Linked DNA regions of Homo sapiens: region 2 is linked to region 1. Evidence: promoter capture Hi-C in human tissues and cell types (Jung and others, 2019). All regions are on one chromosome and are shown on one strand. The core of a region is centred on a gene start or on the middle of the fragment in contact, and the rest is flanking DNA. Distances in the headings are between cores, read along the strand shown. Region 1 holds the start of MAP2K3 (mitogen-activated protein kinase kinase 3). Region 2 overlaps KCNJ12 (potassium inwardly rectifying channel subfamily J member 12).

Region 1 (6,214 bases), core at 718-3,217:
AAAAGCCTCCAAAACAAACAGTGCTTCCTACCCTTCCCCGAGCTCTCCAGAGTGGAGAAGTGTCTGATTTCCTGGTTCCCAAGCTCCACGAGGTCTGTGCAGTGCAAGTCCCTCCCCAGACACCTCCCCCGTCGAGTGCCTCCCGAGTTACTCACAGTGGTTGGGCAATGGTCAGGGATCCGGCCTCCCACTTATGTAAGGCATAATTATCCAGCCCACCCGGCTCCAGCCACCATAGCAGCCAGCAGCAGGGGCCAGGAAGAGCCCATGCCCTCCCCAGGCCCACATAGGGCTCCCATTGGCCTGCACCCTCCAGAACAGAAGAGCGGCTGACCCCTGATGAAGTGCCCACTAGGTGCCCGCTGCTAGGTGCTTCCTCCTGCTCACTCTGAGGCTGCACTTCCAGCAGTGGAGGCCTTTCCAGCAAGAAGAATGGAAACAATAGCGAGATGTGTGCAGCCAGTGTACCCTGGTGAGCACCGGCTCTGCGCCAGGTGCTACGCTGAGAGAACGCCTCAGAGCTCTTTACTATTCACCACCCCACACCACACTCCCACGTCCACAGAAGCAGGTGCGATTACTTCCAATTTACAGAAAAGGAAACTGAGGCCCAGAGACACCAGGGAGCTTGCTGGGGTGAAGCAGCTGCAGGTTCAGAAAGCCAGGAGGCAGCCCATTCATTACGGCTATGTCCGGTTTGGAAATCTCTCGCACAACCCAGCCTACTGAAACTCCGACGCACCAAAAACATCCTTTCCTCTTCCTGAAAAAAAAAAAATTCCCCTTTTGCCCTCCGAGTTTCATCCTTCCCCCTCCGCATGACAAATCCTGCTGCTGCCACCTCACAAAAATTTCCAGGAAGGCCAGCTACTTGGAGAAGAGCAAATCCCTTGCACAGCCAGCACCCTGGCCTGGCGGCTGGCCCAGATCCCAGGCAGCCAGGACAAGAATAAGATGGGGTGAGAACCCCCAGTGCAGGGAGAAGCTTGCAACTCAAGACAGAGAGAGGCCGGTAGAGAGGGGGCTGTACCTTAGGGAGGGGTGGGAGGACAAGGAAGGTTCCTGGGAGCCCAGGGCTGCAGGACAGGGTGCAGGCCAGCCAGGGAAGGGGCAACATAGGGCCTATAAGGATAAGAAGAGCTGGGGGAGAGAAGGACGGGGAGTTCCGAGCTGGGGTGTAGCCAGAGCACCCGCATAGGGGGTACAGTGAGGTCCGCAACAACAGGAGCACTCTGGGGCCCAGATGGAGACTCAAGTTAAATCCCAACCTGGATACAGCCCTGGGACCCGAAGCTAGAAATGGGACTGGGTGCTGCCCAAGGACCCAGGTGAAGGCCAGTGTGAATCTCACCTGGGTCCCGCTGAGGGAGAAGACTGGGAGAGTTCATGTCCAGGCTGCAGCCATAAGGCCCAAATGAGGTCAGAATGAGGCTCCTGACTTGGATGGGGTGAGCAGAACAAAGTCCTAGTCTGGGTCCAGCCTGGGTGATCTCGGGCCTGAGTGCAGTCCCAAGGCCTAACGTGGGGGTCCAGGTGAGGGCCCAGGCGGGGGCTGGTCCCGGGACCCCGAACAGGAAGGGGTTCCGGGACCGGACGCCGCTGCCAGGTCGAGAACAGGATGGGGTGGGACCAAAGAAAGGTCGGGGTTTGCAGCCCGGCCCCAGATTAGGCGCGGGGTCAGGCCGAGGTCCCGGCCGGGAGCGCCTACCTTTGGACTGGGGCATGCTGGCGGGCTGGCTCGAGGCGGGCGACTCCATGCTGCAAGTGGGTCCTGGACGGCGGTGGAGACTAATCTAGAGGACTGCGGGCTCCACCGGGGCCGAGCACGCTCATGGCTGCGGGCAGACGGCCCAGGCCAGGCGGAGGAGCAGCGGCGGCGGCGGCGGCGGCGGCGGCGACTGCGGCGAGGACTGCGGCGGCGACTGCAGCAAGGACGAGTCCGCGACGGGCGGCGCCGGAGACAGACTGGGCAGCGCCGGGGAGACCCCGGCCGAACTGCGCTGACTCAGGCCCCGCCCCTGCGTGCCCGATTGGTCCTTTCGTTTCCAAGGCCCGTCCTCTGCCTATCAGACGCCGGCCTGTCCCTGCCTGTCAAGCACACGCCCCACCCTCCTTAGGCCCAGGATCCGGGCCCCTCCCGCTCTCTGTCAAGTCCGCCAGCCGCCCGAAAAACCCAGGTCCGGTCAGGCTCCGCCCCCTGGACTAAAGCCGCGCCCCTCGCGCTGCCCGTCAACATGCAAGCCCCACCCACTCCCGGGACCCACTGAGCCCGCTGCTCCCTGCAGGCGCCCAGGCCCAGCCCGGCACCCCCAGACCCGCAGCCCCGGCGGGTGCGATGCGCGGGCGCGTTCTCCTGGGTGCGTCGTCTGGAAAAAACCCGAGATCCCTAAAGGTGGCACGGCTGGGCCTGCCGAAGTGGGCGGGGGTTAAAAGTGCGCTGCTGGGCTGCCTCCTGGCTCTCTGAACCTGCAGCTGCCTCACCCTAGCAAGCTCCCTAGTGTCTCTGGGCCTCAGTTTCCTTTTCTGTAAATTGGACCCGGGTTCGGATCCGAGTCGGCAGCTTTGTAGCGGAACTAGCCTTGGTCAGGTGGTGACACCTGAGCCTCAGTCTACGCATCTGTGAGCGGGCGGCGGTGACAGCTATCTCCCGGCGCTGCTCGCTAACACGCACTGAGGGCCTGGCGCCAGCAAACGTCGCCCGCGCCCGCGCTCCAGGCGCCCGGCCAGGGCGCGGGGTCGGTGGTGAGCTCAGCGATGCCCGGTGACGAGGCAGCACGAGGAGTTTTCGTGGCTGGTTACTGCTGCCCCTGTTCTACACAGGGGGAAACCGTGTCTCAGAGGGAGTGAGGCGGCATGCGGTGCATTTTATCCCGCGAGCCCCGAGGCCCCATCCTGGCTCTCTCCTGGACCTTCGTTCTCTCCTCTCCTCCTAGGATCTCAGTCTGCCCATCTGCATAATGGCTGGATGGGCCAGTCCTCCCTCTGCTCCCACACGGAACCTCGGGGGATTTCAGGAACCGCTGACCAATCTGGCGCTGGGAACAGATGACTCTGGATGTAAAGCCAGGGCTAGTGAAGGCAGAATGTACCAGGCAAAGGTCAAGGGGTCAGCCCCTGGCCTCCAGGCAGACATGTGTACCCTGTCAGGGACCTCACGTGAGGGAAGCAGATTCCACCACCTGCTAGAAAGGCTTGAGGCCGGGCCTGACCTCTGCTTGCCCAGGTGTAAAGTGGGGGTGATGCAGGGCCCCATGCACAGAGTGGGGAGCCACAGGAGATAAGAGGGAAGCCTTGCAGCCATCACCATTCTCTTCCTGCGTCTCCTGTTCACCCTTCCCAGGCAGTGGGATGGAAAATCATGAGTCTGGGGCTCAGATAGGTATGGGTTCCAATACCAATTCCTCCACTTACTAGCTGGATGACCTTAAAGAAGTCACTGAGCAGCTCTGTGCCTCAGTTTACCTATCCCATGGGGACAATAAGGTCTCTGAAAGCGTTTCATGAGTTCAGGAGTGGAAACACCTGGCCTAGGGCTTGGCACTCACTAGGTGCCCAGGAAATGTGAGTTTGAAAACACTGTGGGCTGCCTCCATCCTTGCCATATCATCCCTGGTGACCTGTGCTTATCCGTCTGTAAAATGGGCATCCAGGAGCAGCTTCCTTTCTACCAGAACTGCAAGGCTAGTCCAGCGAGTTTTCTGGGTTCAGGCACTGGCCAACAGCCTTGACTTCTGCACAAGGCCACACTCCGCCTTGTGCACTCTGCTTCTTGGGATGTTCAAGAGTCTCAGTATTGCCCCTCAAATGTGCCAGGGATGGTCCTGCCGCAGCAGCTTCACCCTTGCTGCTCCTGCCCAGAACATTCTTCCACTCAAGCCTCCTGGGGCTGGTTCCCTCTCATCCCTCAGACCGCTTCCTAAATGAACACCCCTAAGAGGCCTTCTCATCATGGTCCCCAGACTGAGGCACAACACTTATGCTGCTGATGTCTTTGTTACTGACTCAGTTTTTAACACAGCTCTCCCTCCAGACCATCCGAGCCTCATTCCCTGCTGTGTTCCCAATGCATAGCCCAGAACCAGGCACATAGTAGGTGCCTGATAAATATTTGAGGAATGAAAAAAGGAAGGAGGAAAGCATCCACAGACCAGGGTGAAGCGACTCCAGTCCCGTGCCAACCTCCTTGGCGGCCAGATGACTCAGACAGGCCCTCGCATACAAGGAGTTTGGGGATTAGTCAGGAGCCCGATAAACAGCTCAGGAATCACAAAACTCCATGTGAGTGCTATAAATAGATGCATGAGCAAAAGTCCCAGGAGGGTGCCTGGGTGATGCAGCCATCTCCATCTGGGTGGGGACAAGGAAGGCCTCTCAGAGGAGGTGATTTTGAGACTGGACTTTTAAGGACCAGTAGGAGCTTACCAGGCAGAGAAGCAAGAAGAGCATCCCTGGAAAGGAACAGCAGAGGCAATGGGTTGGAGATGTAAAAAGGGCCACACATGAGGACCAGGTGAGGGCCAGACTGGGATGCACAGCTGCACCACTGGAGCTCAAGAAGTACCATCAAGAACCATCAGAGACAAAGGTCTCTTGCTGGCTTGCTATAGTGACATCTCTTGATTTCTTTCTGTCTGTAAGTGGCACAGTCAGATTGGGGAACTCCATGACCATGCAGAAAGCAGAATAAATGTTTGACATGGGTCACAAGAGGCTGCCTCTTACCTTGATTCCTAGGAGAAAAGTCCCAAACCTGCTCTCTGTGGATGCAGGAAACTGAGTCTCTGGATGGGAAGGATTGTGGCCAAAGTCAGGATGCAAGCATGATCTGAGGTGGGCAGGACCTGGGGTGACAGAAGGCTGTAAAGAGAGGCTGACTCAATAGCATTAACTATAAGTTTTGTGCTTCCAAATCACTTTTTGGTTTTTAAGAATTTCTTGATACTATTGTAGCCTGCCTTCGATTTTGATCCTTTATTCTTTCTATTTGTCAGGTGCACAAGATTACCTTCCTTTTTTAGCCTTCTGTCTTGTCACCAACCATTCCTACTTGGTGGCCATGTACTTGGAAAAAGGCCGCATGATCTTTCTGGCTCCAATCAATGTCTAAGGCACCCTGCTTCCTTTGCTTGCATCCCACAGACTATTTCCCTCATCCTATTTACTACAGCAAATCTCTCCTTAGTCGATGAGATTGTGTTTATCTCCCTTTAAAACCCTACCTATCCTGAATGGTCTGTCATTGTCTGCCTTTAAAATCCTTCCTCTTTCTTCTTCCTCTATTCTTTAAATAATGATGGGGCTAAGTTATACCCAAAGCATCACTTTACAAAATATTTCCTCGGTACTTTGCAGAAAACACCAAACAAAAATGCCATTTTAAAAGAGGTGTATTTTTTCTTTTAAAATGTAAGCTCCTCAAGGGCAGGGAAATGTTTTCTGTATGTTCTATTGTGCCTAGTACACTGTAAATGCTCAATAAATACTGATGATGGGGGAAAAAAAAGAGAGAGGCTGACCCAAACCCAGGATGTGGGCAGCTCCTTCATTCATTCAACAGATATTCATTGAGCACTTACTGTGTGACTGGCACTGAGAACACAACATTGAACAAGATGGACACAACTCCCTGGGGAGGTATGACCTGGTGTGTGAGCCAGACAAGCAAAATGCCTAAGTCAAATTATGTCAGGCCAGGCATGGTGGCTCACACTTATAGTCCCAGCAGTTTGGGAGGCCGAGGCAGGTGGATCGTTTGAGCCCAGCAGTTTGAGACCAGCCTGGGCAACATGGCAAAACCTCGTCTCTACAAAAAAAAAAAAAAAAAAAAGTTGGCTGGGTATGGTGGCATGCTGCTCAGGAGGCTGAGGTGGGAGGATCACTTGAACCCAGGAGGTCAAGGCTGCAGTGAGCCAAGGTTATACCACTGCACTCCAGCCTGGCGGGCAACAAGACCCTGTCTCAAAAAACAAAAAATTATTACAAATGCTATGGGGGAAAGTAGGGGAGGGGACAGGGTGTGTGTCTGGACATGGGGGCTATAATTTTAAGGAGGGAGGTCAGGAAAAGCCTCCCTGGAAGGTGCCACATAAACAGAGACCAAAGGACTTAACGGAAGGACCCACAAAGAGATCCGGGGGAAAAGCATTCCAGGCAGAGGGAACAGTTGTGCAAGGGCCCTGAGGTGGATGGCTTGTAGGCGAGTAACAAGGAGACC
Region 2 (6,305 bases), core at 3,178-5,677, 130 kb before region 1:
AAGGCACGCACAAAGGTCCTGGGGTGGGGGGACATGTGGAATGTCAGGGAAACCAAGGGACAGGGTGCCTGCAGCAGAGGGGCAGGAGCAGGAGTGAGAGCAGGGAAGGTTGGGCTGCACGGGGCGGGCTTGCAGAGGTGAAGCGGGCAAGGAGCAGCTGGGGTTTTATTGCCAGTGTTAAGGAGAAGCCAGGGAGGGTTTCAGGCAGGGAACTGCAAGGCCTGATTCTGGTTGTAAGAAGACCACTCTGGTGCCGGGTGGAGAGTGGGCTGAAGGGGGTCCGATGTGTCCTTGGGGCCCCCACTGCTGTTGGGGAGCACACAGGCAGCTCTGATCTGGGCTGTGATTCCTCCCAAGTTGTGGGGGTCCTCCCTGCAGACCGGTTTTAGGAAGGGAAAAGTGGAGATGAGTCCAGGGCAGGCCCCAGCTGGGGCACCCCTCCACTGGCAGAGACCGCAGCCCAGCCCTGGTCACCAGCAGGCAGAGGCCCTGAGGTGTCCAGTGCCCAGCAGGGTGGCAGCATCTGGGTCAACTGACTGAAGGGCCCAGGGCCTGGCTTAGATCCCAGCTTGAGGAACTACCCTGTGGGGGCCTCGAGCAAGTCCCTTAGCTTCCCTCGACCAACCTCCTCTAAAATAGGTTAGCAGTGCCTCTGAGGCCTGCTGACACGGGCCAGCCCAAGATCAAGGGTGGGGCCTGACAGACCTCAAACATCAAGCTCGCAGGCGCTCAGTGAACGCTCACAAGCTCTCCACCCCCATCCCAGCTCTACCTGTTTTAAAGCAGATTCTGGATTGGGCTCACATCATCCCTGGAGAGGCAGGGAAGTGCATGGAAGTCACGCAGACCTGGGGTTAGGCCTGGGCTATGTGTTCCTTGCTGTGACCTTGAGCCAGAGCAGCACCTCCGGGTGCCCCTCAGGAGGGCGGGCAGTGCCAGTGCAATCTGACTTAGCAGAAGGCAGGCACTGAGGAGCACTCACTATGTCAGGGTTCTTTCTCCTCCTTTCCAACAAACCTGTGAGCTGGCCATTCTTATGAACACCCCCTTTTTGCAGATCAGGAGACCGAGGCTGGAGGGGGAAAGGAATTCACAGGAGGTCCCCCAGCAAATGAGTGGCCTGCATTCTGACCCAGGGCCCTTTGCGGCATTAGTACAGCCAGGACAGCGCACCTGGAGACTCTACGATAAGCATTTGTTGAGCACCAACTGGGGCCAGGGCCTCATGCCTACCAGTCAGCGCCATGGGAATGGCCCGGAGGGCTTGAGTGAAGACAGATGCTACCGTGTTTTGGCCCCAGTTGGCCTTGATCCTGCTACTGGGGTCCCAGGAGGGCCCCAGAGTCAGAAAGGAGGTCCCCACCAAACCAAGCCACCTCCAGGGTCCCCGGGTCACCCCAAGTCCAACCCAAGGGAGCTCCCACTGGGAAGCCTTCATGACCCCCTAGGCCCTGGCACCCAAGCCCCTGCTCCACATTCTGCCATGCACGGCACCATCACCCAGGAATGACTCAGGCAGGGGATTCTTATCCGGGGTTGTCTGGAATCATCATCGAAATCCTGCAGAAAGAGGGTGCCCTGAGTCCTTTGCTGATGCAGAGGAGTGGAGAACTCTCCACTCACATAGTTTGGGAAGGGAAGGAATTCTCTCCCCACAAGTCCCTGCTGAAGACCTTGGAGATCTGGGGCTGAGCCTCAAGGTACAGATGAAAGTCTAGTTTCCCAAAACTGGGCCGTGTGTGTTCCCTCACCCCACTCCAGGCTTGTCTCGTCACCTCAGTGGAGACATTGGCACGCTCTGAAACTCCTCCTCAGCCCCTGCCTGCTACAAGCTGGAGCAGGGCTTCCCCTCCTGGGAAAGGAGTTGCCTGTCTCAGGTCAGCCTCCCCCAGCTGGGGAGGGCGCTGCTGCAACAGCAGGCACCCAGCACATCCTTGCAGAAGGAAGGGAAGGCAGGAGGCTCGGCCCTGCCGCCTGGGATGGGTGACATCATGGGACAAGCCCTGTGTGCTTGCTGGAGACCACTGGGAGCTGCAAGGAGGCTGAGTTCTGTTCCATCTCCCAACAGCTGCCACCATGCCCCACCCTCACCCATGAGGAAGCCCCAGGAAACCCCCACCCAAGGCGGAGGCTGAGGAAGCCGGGCGGACGCCCAGCACGCTGTGGAGCCATGCAGGGGAACTTCAGAAAACACATCTCAACACAGGGGACCTCAAAGAGATCAAAATGCATTTAATGTGGTCTAGTCTCATCGCCTACGTCTTTAGATACTGCTATGTATTGAAAATAACATGAAAACTCTCCAGTTTCACCATTTAAAATAATTTGACATTCTATGCCCTCACGCAGGGCAGACACCCCGTACAGGGGCCTCCCAACGGTGGCTCCTCCCCGCCCCCCAGGACCCTCTGGGTGGGGACCACGCAGCACAGCACCAGCAGAGGCTCAGGGGGTGGCCACCGTGCTCTGAGCAGCAGGCATAGGCTGCACACAGACACACACTCAAGTACACGGTTTCACATGGGCACACACACAGCCTCCTACACACGAGCCGGACGCACACGCTCACCTCCAGATGTCTCATCCTGGAACACAAGCTCCACTCAGGAGCAGACGTGCATAATCAGGGCAGAGGGTCGGGGACTGTGGGGTTCACCTGTGCCAGTGCCCAACCTGATGGGTGGGTGCCCTCCCTCACAGGAAACTTGTACACGGAAACACCTGGGGGTAGACAGACACATAACCGCCTGCATACACACACACACACACACACACACACACACACACGTATAGATCACGTATCTGTATTACTAACCCAGTCATACACATGAAGAGCCGAGTGTGCATGTGTGCACCACACATGTATGCATGCAGGCTCACACAGGCACACGCCTCCACACACACACTCCCCAGGGGCCAAGTCTTCCTCGCTCCTGGCTCATCCCATCCGCCCTCCCGCTTCAAGTGCACTAAAGAGGGAGACTATTTTGGTCTTTAGCACAAGCAATAAATAAATAAATAAATACGAGGGAAGGAAGAAAGAGGGCAGGAGAATCAAGCATCTGCCGCCTTTGGGGAGATGAGGCGCTGGGGCTGCTCTCCCGCAGGGTGGGGGCTGGGAGGTAAGAGCACAGACCTCCAAGAGGGCCAGGAGGTGGGCCTGGGGTCCTCGGACTCAGCTCTGGGTCGGGGGAGTAGAAGGCTGTCTCACTGGCCCTGGAAGGGCACAGGCCCCTACACCAGCACCAAGTGACCAGGGTCACCACTGTCCCTCAGCATGGCCATCAGGGAGGCGAAGTGTCAAGCTCTCCCCTGCCAACTTCACCCCAGTACCCAGGGCTAAGGCTGAGAAGGCCCCTAAGGCTTCGGGGCTAGGCCTGGGAGCAGGAACCAGCTGAGGCACCCCTGGCAGACCCCGAGAGGAAAGAGCTGCCTCGGCGGAATCTTCTATGCCAGAAATGAGTGTGGGGCTGAAGCTGGGACAGGATGCTGAGTCGGGCCTACCCCAGGATGTAGGGGTCGGGTGTCTTGACTTCCATTGCCCCAGACCTCAGGGCTGAGTCTTCAGCTGCTAAGGAGGGGAGGAGGTGGAGGGAAGAGGCAGACACCCCCACCCCACGCCCCCAGCCCCTCTCTGTCTCCTGCACCCCACCCACTCACTGCATGACCCCCTCTGCTCTCTGCCTCAGCTTCCCCACTTGGGCCAGAGTCCTCGGTGCCTTCTGGCTCTGAGCTGTCTCGGGGTGCCTTCTGGCTCTGAGCTGTCTCGGGGTGCCTTCTGGCTCTGAGCTGTCTCGGGGGCAGAGTTGGAGCAGGAGACACATCCTTTCTGATTACTGGCTTCTGGAGAAGCCCGACTAGAAGAGAGCAGGTTTTCTCCGCAGCCCTGGGAAGGGCCTGGCTCTACCATGGACCTGACCCAACCAGCTGCCATGAACAAGATGGGGTGGCAGAGCCAGCAGTGACAACAAGGGGACCCCAAACCTCTTCCTGATGAGGGTGCCATAGTGCCTCAACCTGGGGGAGGGTGGTGGAGGAGCGGCCCTGGAAGACTCGGCAGGAATTCTGTTCCACGGCTGGTTTCTGATTCAGCTTTGAATGAGCGTGGCCCTCCCCAGTCATCCCAGTTGGCAGGAGGGGGTGGCGATTCCTCTCCTTTCCTAAGATCTTTCCTCTGCCATTCAGCGCTGACCAGGGCCTGGCTGTGCCCTGCCTGAACTCTGCTGTGCTGCTCCAGGTGAGGGAGGGACAGGATGTGGTCCTATGTCAGGCAGACCTGGCCCCTGCCACCTTCACAAGGCAGACAGAGGGGCTGGAGGAACTTCAGCAGTGGAGGTATGGGAGGGGTGGGGTGGGACAGGGTTGGGGGGAGATGAGCAAGCCCAGAAAGAACAGGACAACCCGGAGTCTCTAAGGCACGACTCACACTGTGGGCCCAGTGGGGACGGGGCTGCCAGCTTCCTCCTAGCCTGGGATCCCGACTTCCCTTCCCAAGGAGCCATCCCGGCCTATAGCTCCTAACCACCCCTCACTGTGGAATTGGGCGGAGGCCTGGACAGAAATGGAGAGAGAAGCAAAACAGGAAAATCGAGGGTGCGGGGAGGAACCCTCGATGGCAGGTCCCATGCCTGGCCCTGAGACACATCTCTAAGGTACAAAGGCAAACTCTAAAAGCTCAAACCAGTTTCTTCCCAGCCCCACCCACCACCCCAACGACAGTAGAAAGCTTTTATTACGATCATTAACATGGTCTTGATTTTTCTATCACAAACAGAGCCTAGCTGGCTCGTGAGCTCGATGAAGTGCGGTCCCAGAGCACCCTGCTTGCCCAGGGACTGTGGTGCCCACACACACGGGGAGAGGCCAGTCCCACCTCGGGGAACCCTCTGGAGCCTTCAGCCAGCTGCTGCATCCTGGCAGACCCATGGAATTCTAATTGTTCTTTTTGCCCCCTGTGAATTAAAAAAAAATTTTTTCAATTGCATGGTAATTTTTTTTTTTTGTAAACAGTCTCACCCAAGCTAAGGTCAAGAAAGCTGAAACCCGGTGTTTCTCCCCAAGTTAAAAACCAGCAAGGAGCACCGCAGCTAGCCAGCCTTGGACAGCAGAGGCTGGGCCCACCATCGAGCTGAGCTGCTTCCCCGCAGGCTGCAGCTCCATCTTCAGGCAGAAGCCCTGGCCCTCGTGGCCTGGCCCCCCAGGAGGCCACTTCTTTGCCCTGAGCCTGTGATAGCCTCTGAGGCCGGGGGCTGCCGCTCTGGCTGCCCCCTCTCCGGCCAAACTTCTGAGGCCGTTGCAAAGAAACATAAAACGACTAAAACGCTACTGAGTCTGCAACCCAGGGCACTGGGCCCGTTCTGCTCAAACCCGGGGCCCCTGAGCGACCGCGGGGCCTCTCCCCAGCCGGGGGTGGATGCTGCATGTCGGCCAAGGTTGGCTCAGATCTCTGACTCCCGTCTGTAGGGCCGCTGCTCCAGGACCCCGCCGCCAGCCTGGAGTCTGTCAAAGTCATGCCTGGCCTGGGGGCTGAGGCCGTCCCGGCTTCGGCCGTCCTGGTCTCCGTCCGCCTCATCCTCCTCGTCACGGCTCAGGAAGGCCAGCTCGTTCTCGTAGCAGAAGGAGTTGGCGCTGGGCAGCAGGAACTTGTTCTCTACCAGATCCTTCGCACTGCAGCGGGGCGTAGAGGGCACCTCATAGGTCTTGTGGAAGTGCGAGTAGTCAATCTTGTACTGGTTCTTCTCCTCGAAGAGCACGGGCTCAAAGCGGTGACCCCACAGGATCTCATTGGCCAGGTAGGAGCTGCGGGCCTGGGTGGTCATGGCTGTGGCCTCCACCATGCCTTCCAGGATGACCACGATCTCAAAGTCGTCCGTCTCCAGGTCCTGCCGGCTGATGCCGAAGAGCGGGCTGGCCTCGTCAATCTCATGCAAGATGGTGATGGGCGACACCAGAAAGATGCGGTCCAGGCCCTTGTCGAAGCCCACATCGATGTCGATCTGGTCCAGCGGGATGTACTCGCCCTCCTCGGTGACCCGCGGCTTGATGAGCTGCGCGCGCACATGGGCCTCCACAATGTGGCTCTTGCGCAGGTTACCCACACGCCACATGAGGCAGAGCTTGCCGTCACGCAGGGCCACCACGGCGTTGTGGCTGAACAGCAGCGTCTGTGCCCGCTTCTTGGGCCTTGCCATCTTGGCCATGATGGCACCAATCATGAAGGAGTCGATGATGCAGCCCACGATGGACTGGGCCACCACCATGAAGACGGCCACCGGGCACTCCTCCGTCACACAGCGCAGCCCGTA

Evidence for each region. The method cuts DNA at HindIII sites, captures the fragments that hold promoters and counts their contacts. A contact is called where the count stands out against the background at its distance.
Region 2: a contact is called between a fragment that was not itself captured here and the fragment with the promoter of MAP2K3 in region 1, in 4 of the 25 tissues and cell types used here (bladder, dorsolateral prefrontal cortex, mesendoderm cells and 1 more).

Annotation. Positions count from the first base shown.
Region 1 is chr17:21,280,464-21,286,677 of GRCh38, reverse strand. MAP2K3 (mitogen-activated protein kinase kinase 3) reads right to left here and starts at 1,967. Exons shown (of 12, transcript NM_145109.3): 1 at 1,709-1,967. The coding sequence starts at 1,757. RefSeq lists enhancers at 259-318, 2,395-2,895 and a silencer at 1,979-2,508. The HindIII fragment of the contact is 7,420 bases long and covers 1-6,214 here.
Region 2 is chr17:21,415,778-21,422,082 of GRCh38, reverse strand. It overlaps KCNJ12 (potassium inwardly rectifying channel subfamily J member 12), which reads right to left. Exons shown (of 3, transcript NM_021012.5): 3 at 2,213-6,305. The coding sequence ends at 5,439. Among named protein-coding and RNA genes, the nearest start is that of KCNJ12, 43 kb to the right of the region's middle. The HindIII fragment of the contact is 7,187 bases long and covers 834-6,305 here.